3 separate regions of the Homo sapiens genome follow, and regions 1 and 3 are each linked to region 2. Evidence: promoter capture Hi-C in human tissues and cell types (Jung and others, 2019). All regions are on one chromosome and are shown on one strand. Each heading gives the region's core, a stretch centred on a gene start or on the middle of the fragment in contact. The rest is flanking DNA. Distances are from core to core; before and after follow the strand shown.

What was found. The method cuts DNA at HindIII sites, captures the fragments that hold promoters and counts their contacts. A contact is called where the count stands out against the background at its distance.
Region 1: a contact is called between a fragment that was not itself captured here and the fragment with the promoter of PKP2 in region 2, in 5 of the 25 tissues and cell types used here (bladder, dorsolateral prefrontal cortex, heart left ventricle and 2 more).
Region 3: a contact is called between a fragment that was not itself captured here and the fragment with the promoter of PKP2 in region 2, in 2 of the 25 tissues and cell types used here (hippocampus and neural progenitor cells).

Annotation. Positions count from the first base shown.
Region 1 is chr12:32,824,760-32,828,224 of GRCh38, forward strand. All of the region lies in intron 6 of PKP2 (plakophilin 2), which reads right to left. Among named protein-coding and RNA genes, the nearest start is that of PKP2, 70 kb to the right of the region's middle. The HindIII fragment of the contact is 3,690 bases long and covers 1-3,387 here.
Region 2 is chr12:32,894,386-32,898,065 of GRCh38, forward strand. It overlaps PKP2 (plakophilin 2), which reads right to left and starts at 2,392. Exons shown (of 13, transcript NM_001005242.3): 1 at 2,124-2,392. The coding sequence starts at 2,346. RefSeq lists silencers at 2,391-2,500, 2,701-2,800. The HindIII fragment of the contact is 8,511 bases long and covers 1-3,680 here.
Region 3 is chr12:32,990,812-32,994,647 of GRCh38, forward strand. No RefSeq gene overlaps it. Among named protein-coding and RNA genes, the nearest start is that of PKP2, 96 kb to the left of the region's middle. The HindIII fragment of the contact is 9,353 bases long and covers 1-3,836 here.

The DNA.
Region 1 (3,465 bases), core at 293-2,792, 70 kb before region 2:
GTCAAAAGTATGACCTATAAATATCTTTACACTTAGTCTATTTCTAATATTGCTAAGTCATGACACCTTTCTATAAACAGTAACTAAACCTATAATTGGAAGTTGTTTACTGATAGAGAAATGAAACTTATCAAATACAGGAAAGTAATGCATTTGGGGATTACAGTGCAGATTCAGATCATGTGTATAGTCTGGTATTATTGTTACTACCTTCCTTTAGATTAAGTTTTTCTTACTAGCATTAACTACTTAAAAAAATATTTTTTTTTCCAAAAATGTCAATACCTCAGTCAACAAGAATGACAAAAAATAGGGCCTTCAGGTTTTAAGAACTTGAGAATCACCTCTATTCCCAACTTTAATTGCTAAGAACTGTCCCTATAAAATGTATCAGATCAGTTTCTTTTTTTTTTTTTTTTTTTTTTTTGAGACGGAGTCTCACTCTGTCACCAGGGCTGGAGTGCAGTGGCGCGATCTCGGCTCACTGTAACCTCCACCTCCCGGGTTCAAGCGATTCTCCTGCCTCAGCCTCCCGAGTAGCTGGGACTACAGGCGTGCGTCACTATGCCCAGCTAATTTTTGTATTTTTAGTAGAGACGGGGTTTCACCATGTTGGTTGGCCAGGATGGTCTCTATCTCTTGACCTTGTGAACCGCCCGCCTTGGCCTCCCAAAGTGCTGGGATTACAGGCGTGAGCTACCACGCCTGGCCCAGATCAGTTTCTTTTACTGGTAGGTAGAATATCCAGAATATGTTCAGGACTTTTTCTTTATAATGTGTTAGTGTCATTCTGAACATCAAAAAGAACTGCAACTTTGAGACATTTTTGAGCCTTACTTTCTTCATCTTTAAAATAATATAGGCCAGAAGCTGTGGCTCATGCCTGTAATCCCAGCATTCTGGGAGGCTAAGGCAGGAGGACTGCTTGAGCCCAGGAGTTTAAGACCAGCCTGGGCAACATGGCTAAACCCTGTCTCTATGAAAAAATACAAAAAATTAGCTACGCATGGTGGCATGTGCCTGTAGTCCCAGCTACCTGGGAGACTGAGGAAGAAGATTGCTTGAGCCTGGAGGTTGAGGCTGCAGTGAGCATTACTACACTCCAGCCTGGGTGACAGAGTAAGACCCTGTCTAAAAAATTAACAAAATAAAGTAATATAATATAAGTGATTTCCAAAAGGCCTTCTGCCTCAAAATACTGCTTTCAGTGCATATTTGTCAAAGAAACAAAGGTGCCTAAGCATTACATCAAGAACTAAAGGTGGCTGGGTGTGGTGGCTTACACCTGTAATTCCAGCACTTTGGGAGGCCGAGGCAGGCGGATCATGAGGTCAGGAGATCAAGACCATCTGGCTAACATGGTGAAAACCCGTCTCTACTAAAAGTACCAAACAAAATTAGCCAGGCATGGTGGTGGGCGCCTGTATTCCCAGCTACTCGGGAAGCTGAGGCAGGAGAATGGTGTGAACTCGGAAGGTGGAGCTTGCAGTGAGCCGAGATCGTGCCACTGCACTCCAGCCCGGGTGACAAAGCTAGACACCGTCTCAAAAAAAAAAAAAAAAAAAAGAACTAAAGGGAATGAGAGGAAGATGCACAATATTATACCTTGCTTTCACAGAGATCATATCTATAGGTTGAACTCTGGAAACTGACAAAACCCGACTGTTTTAACCCTCAAAAATGGCAATTTCATGATTCAACGTGACAGTTGAGGAGATAACATACCTAAAACTAAGAATATACTAACAATTTAATGGTTGCTGAATTGATACAATGAATTTTTTAACAAAATCTCTTCTGTGACTGATTCTCATTTGACCCTTCTACTTCCTTATTAATTTTTACTGTACCTGAAAAACTCGGACAGTTTGTTCATTTAAAAAAAAATGAATGGGTTCATAAGCTGGAAATAAAACAATTTTTTACTTAGCTTTTTTCAAAGAATGATCATTTCAACCAAGATCCTCTATCTACTTTGTGAGCCCTTTAAGAATCATGGGGATTCAGAAGCTTGACAGAAACTGAAAAAGCATCTTTTCCAGTCTCCTTATTTTATACATGAAAAACTAGAAGCCAAAAGTTTCCGTTACTTTTCCTGGTGACAGCAAATTAGTGGTAAAGTCAGGAAAAGAGGGCTGTTCTTTATTCTACACCCAGGGTGGCCCAGAACAGAGCAAATCCCAGCTAGCATTCATTCAGTCTGCAAATACCATATGTCCCCAACTACATGATGTTATCATATGTTTAAAAGCTTCCCTTTGGCCTTTTCAACCTCTGGCCAGGATAAATGGCAGTAGTTTAAAATTGCTTTGACAAATCAAAAAGTCTTTCTTCCTGGCTAAGCCCACTACATACCTTGCAGATGGATGACTTAGCTTTGTTTAACTCCGGGGTGTTTATTTCGGGTTAGAATGGTAAGTCAAGTTGGCAGTACTGCCAGTTCACAAGTACTAACTGTTGTCTTGCTGTTTGGTATTATCCAGACTCTACTTGCTTGAAATGGGACTTATCAGGGGTTTCTGGCAGTTGATACTTTTGCTGACAGAAAGTGCATGGAACCCCATTGCTTTAGTATTTGCTCCTGCATATCAAAAATAGTTCCCACCTTACTCAACTACACAGAAATATGAATGATAAGGGTAGATTATTTTATACCACTGCATCCATGAATAGAAGTCATTAGACAGAAAGTAATTTGTTATTGCACCATTCCGAAAATAACCAATAACTATAGAAAATGATACATCCATCTTAAAATATTTTTTTTTAACAGCTAGTACTTAAGCTTGTGGGAATCAGAAAATTAACATGGCTACCTTTAGGCAGAATTGATCTTTTTTACAACGTATCTCTTGAATCATAAGAACTATTTATTGATTGGTTTCCCATACATTACCCAATGGTGGCTCAATAGAAAAATATCTCAAAACTGTAAGTGAAATATACTGAAACAATTACCTTATCGAAAATTAAAAGAGAATGAGCATACAAACATGGTAGTTACTTAATAAATAGTGCTTATTAAAGTTACCAATAGAATATATTAAAAACGTGTAATTTAGTGCCTGTCGTTTGCATTTGATTAAACGATGGGTTTATTTCCTCTGGTATAATCAAGCCTAAGTCTGAGTAAATATCTGCAGACCTTTAAGAAAACTAAAACTGCATACTGTTATATACTGAAATTTAAAAACAGGTCCTTAGGGGTTGAAGGCAAGGGGCCAGGGCCTTAGGAGAAGTAGAGTGAGGAAGGAGACAAATTACTCTTCACATAAAGGCAGGAATTATTTGGAGTTCTTCACCTCCACTGGTCCCAAATGGGAAGACGCCAGTTTGACTTGTGGCCAGTGCTTGATATCGGGAAGAATCTCTCTAGCAATGTGACTTGTAATGGGGGAAGAAATAGAATCTGGACCTCTGTGTGTCTCTGAAATGGTCACGGAGCTTCACATATTTAGGGGGATT
Region 2 (3,680 bases), core at 1,142-3,641:
CCCGGCATGAAGAACATACTCATTTGATGCTTGCTGAATTCATCACACAGGTGATGCATTACTTTGTAGAAAGAACAGATTATGTGTGGAGTTGGGATTAAATTTCCAACCATTGCTGACAGACACATACTTCATATGTGAGATGGATTCTCATATCTATCTCAGCAATTGTTTCAAGAATATAATGAAGATTCTGGAATAGGCACATAGTAGATGCTCAGCAACATTCCCTTTTCTTCTGTTCATGGCTCCATTCCCTCCATTTATGGAAGAGTTGTATCTGCTTGCTCTCTTCCTAGCTGGCCATTCTCAGAGGATAAGAAAGAATATCTAATATGCCTCCTGTGTCTCCTACGCAGGGGAAGCTGATTTGGTTTCAGTTTAGCACTGGACCTATGGGCACAGAGAATGAATGGGTGTAATGGCTCCACTTTTCAAAGACTGGCCTCACTCATCCCGCAGTCTTTAGTCAGACCCCTAAGTCTAAATAAATATAAGGTCTTTCCCTCCATGTATTGCAGCAGTTCTGTGTTTTCTAGACCTCCCCAGCCTTTCAGAACTTCCTCAATTTTATTTAAAGAAAAATGGGAGGGGGCCACGGAGAGGCTTAGCATCTAACAAATCCCACTTTGTATTAATCATTTTAAAACTTAATGATAAAACTGATAAGTTTAAAATTCAGGTTTGGGAGTTTAAATACCAGCTCTGCCACTTACCATCTATTAGAGCTTCAGTGTTACTTAACTGCTTAGTTTCCTCATCTGTAAAATGAGGATGAAAATACCTAACTCACAAGTTTTTAAATACATATATATATATATATCTCAAATGAATGCAAACCACATCGCCCAATTCTTGGCACATAGTATGCACTCAGTTATATTAACTACGATCATTGAACATCTTCTCTTTACCTTTCAAGTATGTTAATATTGACTACGTCATCCTTTAGGATTCTTTTACACACACAGTACAGCCTCCCAGACTCTGCTGTTTGAAATCTCTGGTCTGGCCTGTTAGAATTTTTCTGTTTTCCTAATAGAAACTAGAATGGGTTAGCCTACATTCGCCAATGCCCAAGTTACTTCATACAGAAACAACTGAACGTTGCAGGAAACAGATATTCCAACTTAATTGCTCAATTTCTTTCCTCTTCTTTTTGCTATAAGCCAACATAGTGCTTTTATAATGCAAACTCACATACACAGCAACAAGAAGTAAAACAAGGGTCACTGAGTTGATCCCATCACCTGACTTCAGCAGGGGAGAAAAGGATACATCATGATCTCTAATTTTCACAAGTGGCTTGCCATCTTCTTTCCCTTCCACCTCCCCCGTCTATCAATCATGAACATAGTGTGCATGTGTGTGCTTACACCCCTTTCACCTTCGGGTTTAATTTTTTGGAGGGATCAGACTTGCATCACGCCCGCACTGGTGGGGGTAGGAAGCGCAGCTAGGCGGGCACGGCTGTTGCCGGCAGGGCCAAAGTCCCCTACCTCCTCCTCGGCGTGTTTGTTCCCTGGACCAAAGCCTCCTAACTACTTTTCTTCACTCCCTAGATCCACCACTCGCCTCCCACACAGGGTGGAGCGCCCCGAAGTACTTGCATAAGACAGCACAATCCCAATTTATAGGTTGTAGGAGCGCCAGTGCTGTCGGTTTTTTTCCCCAAGATATTTATGGGGGTCATTAATTATTTAACAAATCTAATAAAATTGAAGGGCTCCTTCTCCCAGAAAAAGATCGTACACACCAAAAATTCTGCATAGCATCTCAAGGTGTTTATAGACTCCCTGAACCTTCAAATTAAGTCCGCACCAGTGAGGGGCGCGGACCGGCGGAGTAGAAAAAGAAAGGGGTGAAATCTTGAAGTGAGTTAGTTAACATTGATAGATATGTACAATATTTAATATACATAGGTACCTATATGACAAAGCTGAGTAATAGGTTATGGAAAAGAGTGCTTTCCACAAGCAAGTCGGTCATACCGAAGACGGCGAGCAACAGGTGGGCAGAACACGGGGTCCCGCACTCCCAGCACGCGGGGTGAGGGCGGGATAGGAGGAGGTGACCGGGTGTGGGGCAGGGGGCGGCGCCGGGGAGCGGCGGGCTCCACTCACCGTTGCCCACGGAGCTGCGGCCCTTCCGGGCGAGGGTCTGCTGCACCTGCTCCTGGATCCGCAGGCTCTTGACTGTCTGGCCGCCGCGGCCGCTGCTCCCCGCCAGCTTCAGCTTGGCCTCGGAGGGCAGCGCCAGGCTGGAGCTGTCCAGTTGTCCCAGGATCTGCTGGCCCAGGACGGTCCGGATGTAGCCGTACTCAGCTGGGGCGCCGGGGGCTGCCATGGGGCCGGTGGGGGCGACCGAGCTGCTCGCCTGCCTCTGGACTCGCGGGCGAAGCCGCCACGGAGCTGGGGGCGCTGGCGCGAGCCCCGCCCCGCTCGAGTCCGGCCCCGCCCCTGGCCCGCCCCCCGCGCCGGTGAGAGGCCCGGGCCGGGGGGGAGCTCGGCCTCGTGGGCCGGACGCCCGGCCTTCCCTGAGGAGGGGGCGCGGCTCCGGCCGGGCACGCGCAGTCGGGCCCGGGGGCGGGGGCGGGGGCGGGCCGGACCCGCTGAGCGCGCGGACACCTGGAGACTTGTACCCGCCCGCGGGGAGGTGGGGAGAGGGGCGCGGTTCGCCTGGGGTCGCGCACGTTGTCGGAGTCCCAGCGGATACCGCCTGCCGGGGCCGCGCCCCGCTCTGCCCACGCCCCGCGCTGGACAGGATGGATTTCCGCTCGATGCAGGGAGGGGCTGCCCTGCAGGCAGGTGAGCCCTCGAGAGTCACTCCTGTTCTTGGACTGAGGCTTGCCTCCGGGATCCCCGAGCGAGTAGTATGTCTGGTTAGTCAGGCTTTGTCGCACTGTTGGAAACGTTTCCTGGTTTTCCTGGACCTGAGGGTGAGAAAGGGCTATTTGGTCAGGCGGAAAGGGCAATATGAGGGAAATGTGCCAAGAAGATAACGTGTGAAATAAAAGACTTTCTAAAGAGAGTGTTTTTTTTCTTAGTACAACGTCAGGACTATGTACTTTTTGCACAGATGCAGTCCCAGAAACATATGTTCTTCCTCATTGAGAGCTTCTGTTTTCTCTTGGATACACAAATTGTACCCAGTACTCTTGCTAACCCATTCCTCTCTTACGAACACACCCACACAGAGAAACTCCAACAAGAGGCTCTAGAGAAGAAATGAATTTTAATAGACGATGCTTTTTAAATAGCCCTGCTAACGTTGATTAAGTCCTCTTTATTACAGGCTCTTTGTAGAGAGATCCACGGAGAGGGCCTCCAACTTTCAATCGAATCTTCCACAACTTGTATTTATCGTGCTATTAATTATGTTTCACCGCAGTTGACTACTGAGAACTTGAGAGCTAAGCTCAACAGAAAGGATCCTTGACCTTAAAGTTTACAACCAAAGCCACTTGTCCTGATTTGCCTCTTTGGACTTAAGAGGCAGAAAGAAAAACATGTATCCCTGGTATTAAGATAATATTCCCTTTGATTGCTTGGGTTTGTATGTTCACTTTCCCTCAAATCACTCAATTGCTGCAAAACCCCACTTACTCAAGTCTGAAGTGTTTGGAGAACGCAGCTTCCCTCGTCTTTGTTTTCCTACCCACACCCTTCTGCCTTTAGACA
Region 3 (3,836 bases), core at 662-3,161, 96 kb after region 2:
GTTGTTTACCAAGATTTACATTAAGATTACTAAAGCTAGTGGTTGGCTGTACATTGTTCTTTGTATCACATATTCCAGGAATTGGAAGACTGTGGGTGAGACCCCTAGTCACGAAAAAAATGCTTTTAAACAATTGCCTCCAGGCATGGGTTCAGGCGCTGGACAGAACCATGTTTCTTAGTGCCTGGTAAATTTTGTATACCCCAGGTAGCTCAGACAGCTCTGAGCTATTTTTCTTTTCTCAGGAGAAAAGCCACTTGAGGGTGCATTCATAGAGGTGGATTACCTGTGTAGGAAATAGGGTTCTGTCTAGCTGGGGACACACTCAGGAACTTAGACTTGTTCTGCTGAGGGGCAAGGAAATTGTGGTATTTATCTACCTACTCCCTCTCCTCATTGGTTGAGGGTTGCTCTTTGTGTGGAATTCCTAGCACTTCCAGATTGCTGACAAGTATGGATTGAGAGAACCTTGCTTATAGTAGCTTTGCACCATATTAGCAGGAATAGGAACTGCAAAGCACATCCAAAGTGGAATAAAGTTAAGAATTTTACACTGCCAACTGTGCACGCAAGTAGCCTAAGCAATCTCTCCTAGGGGAGACAGAGCCCGCAGGTGGAGAGATAGGGAAGAGTATTTGAGGTGGGAAGTTATCAACGTGCTCATTGTCCATGACAGCTACAGGAACTCAGAGTTGAGGCTGAGGGGATACGGGAGGGAGTGTGGCAACAGCATCTGCTGTGGTCCTTCAAATGTTTAGATTTTTCCCTTGGCAGAACTTGAACTATATTAAGATTGATGCTTCAAAGCCCCCTTAGTGGTTACTCTTGCTGGTAGTAAGTCTGCACATGCTAGGTGAAATGTGCATTCATATATTGAACATACATGCTCTAAGTCTGCACATGTTAGGTGAAGTGTGCCTTCATATATTGGAACAGTTGTAGAGACAACTATAAAAGTTTCCCAGTCTGAGCAGTATGGGGAGGGTCAGGTCTTTATCTCCCAGAGCTCATCACCACCCTCAGTGCAGTCTGCCAGCATCTCACTCCTTTAAGAATCTCATTTTCAGAGAAGTATACTGCAATGGTTAGTGAAATTATTCTCTGTAAAACTGCTTAGAGATTCTTACAGGAACTATTACCCCTCTATTAAAAACAGTGAGAAAAACTTTAAAAAATAATATTTCCTTGGCAGTTACAAACTACTTATTGACATAACCATATTAACTTCCATATAATCATATATTATATATATAATAATTATATTTAAAATCACTCATTTGGATAGCTTTAGCATAAAAATACATTTTAGGGTGGGTAAAAAGGGTGGTCAAAGCTATCATTTATGTCTGAATAGCAATAAGCTCTTAATAGTTCACCCAGCAAACCAATGATAGCAAGATAAAATGTAATTCATAGGCAAAAAAGACAATGCCTACTGCACAATTTAGGATGCTTTACCATAATTAGTGCATAAGAACTGAGATAGTGATTTTTTATTATGAGGGATAAGGTAAACCCAACCAAATTCCAAGATCTTTATGCATTTAGAGAATATTCTTTTTAAAGAGAATGGTTTTATGTGCAGTACCCACAGTTGGGCACTTATAAGTAAATGGATATTTTTCAACTCTGTGCTGTCTTCTGTATATTCTCTTTATGCACAGGCAGAAATTAATTCAGCAGCTAGTCAAGACCACCAACTACGAATAGTGGTCTGTGCTACTAAAAATAGTTCTACAGTATTTAATTTACATGTAATATTTGGTATCTGGTGCTGACACAATCCATAACTGGGGAGAATTATGTGGAAGATCTGACGAATTGTTCTTGAAATAGGGTGAGCAGGAGGAATATTTGGTATATGTCTCCTTATTTAATGTCTATTATGTATATCGTTAAAGATATAAAGATAATGGAACATGGTACTTTTGTTTGATGAATTCAGTCCCTTGGGGGAGACAAACATGCAGTCTTTTGCATCATATTTCCTGTTGCTTGGTGACAAAAATGCATTTTCTTACAGGCCTCTGAGGCTAGACTCAAGTGACTAAAGCCCTTATAAACATTTTCTTGGGTTGAGATTTTTAAAGTACATTTTCGGAAAGATTTAACCCAAAAAGACTACTTTGCTGCATTTCGTTTATTTCTCATCTTTGAAATGAGCAATTGGACTTGCTGCTATTTAAGTTCTCATATAGCTATAAAGAATTCTACATTGCACTATAAATGGGTTAGGGTACAGTGGGGAAGTCTCACAAGAAAATAAGTCTCCCAACCTGAAGATCTTTTATGACCACATATATAATACTATGTACATTAGAGCACTTTTACTAAGGTCTAATGAGAATTTTCTAGGAGTACACAGCTATGAAGTGTCACATTTGAATTATTCACCCAAATGAATCGACCTGAATTTTTAATATTTTAATTTACACCTATTTTACACATTCATGTTACTTAGAAAGTCTACACAATTGCATATTGAAACCTGGGGAAAACAAAGGCAGTAGATTTCACTTTATATTTGTCAGATATAGTGCATTCCTGGCATGCATATGATTAAATAATTTGGGGCAATTTTGCTTTGGATGTAATCAAGACAACATAAAACTTGTCAGCAGTATATGAGCCATAAGAACCGGCTATGGCAGACCCCTGGGAGAGATAAATGTTTTATTTTGTCGTGTTTGGCATGCAGCCTCATTTTGATTTTTATTAGATTAGTCTTTTCTTTCGACTTCTTTTCTTGCAGGCTCTTTCTGAGGGCAACATTATAAGGCTTCAAAAATAGCACAGTGAGCCAAGAGAAACTGCAAAGACACCGCTGTGGGATGGTGATTTGGATATAAAATTCTCTGAGCCAGGTGACATGTTTATGACTAACTCACTTCAGACTTACTCATTTAGTATTGGCACTATTTCAAATAAAAAAAATTCTCTTTTTCTCATGTTTCAGAAGATGTTATTAATTTAAAAGACAGTTAAAAGGTGCCATGAGGTTGAGGACAAAAGCAGATGGCATATTCCAGTGTGTGTTTCTGTCCCCTGATATGGAATGGTCAGTGGAAGTCCTGTGATTATTTTTTGCAGGGTACGATAAGCTATTGGACCCTCTTGGACAACCGTCTAGACCCTGGAGCCATTGTAGTTTGGATAAGGATGCTTAAGTAAGGGGTGGGGGACAGAGAAAGATGTTTGGGGGAGGGGTATCGATATTCTTTCTACACTTTTGCACCCAAGTACCTGGGAAATCTTCTAAGACTACGTTTATGCAGTACCTTCTATGTGTCAGACCACTGTGCCATGCACCTTCTTATGTTCTCCTATTTAATCCTTTCAGTGAGCCTTTGAGCAAACTCCTCTCCCTGCAACCAGAATTTCCCCAAGTTTTACCTGTCTGAGGGCAGAGATGAAGTCCTGTTGACACTAACACCCAAATTGCAATGACCTTTTGCCCCTCCCCGTGTGAGAACAGCCCTTCTAGTCCTCCCCCATGCGTGTCTCGGGAGGGTCAGAAGCCAGGCTGCTTCCTTTCTTCCACGCTGACTCCTGCCTTGCTGTGGTCAGCACTCTCCCTGCTGGAAATGCTTTCTTTGAGCTTTACTGTCAACTAGATCTTCACTGGGCTGGGAGCTGCCCTTGGACCCCTTTGCCCCAGATCTGAATTGAGGGCAGTGGCAGCATGGGGTGCTGTAAGGGGCAAGAGAGGTTCAGTTTAGAGGATGACTGCATTCCATCTCTGTGCAGCCCCTTGAAGTACACAGCTGATGTACACGGCTTCTACGACTATTTCACAGCTCCCCCATCTCCCCTGCCCCACCAATTATTGCTTGTCC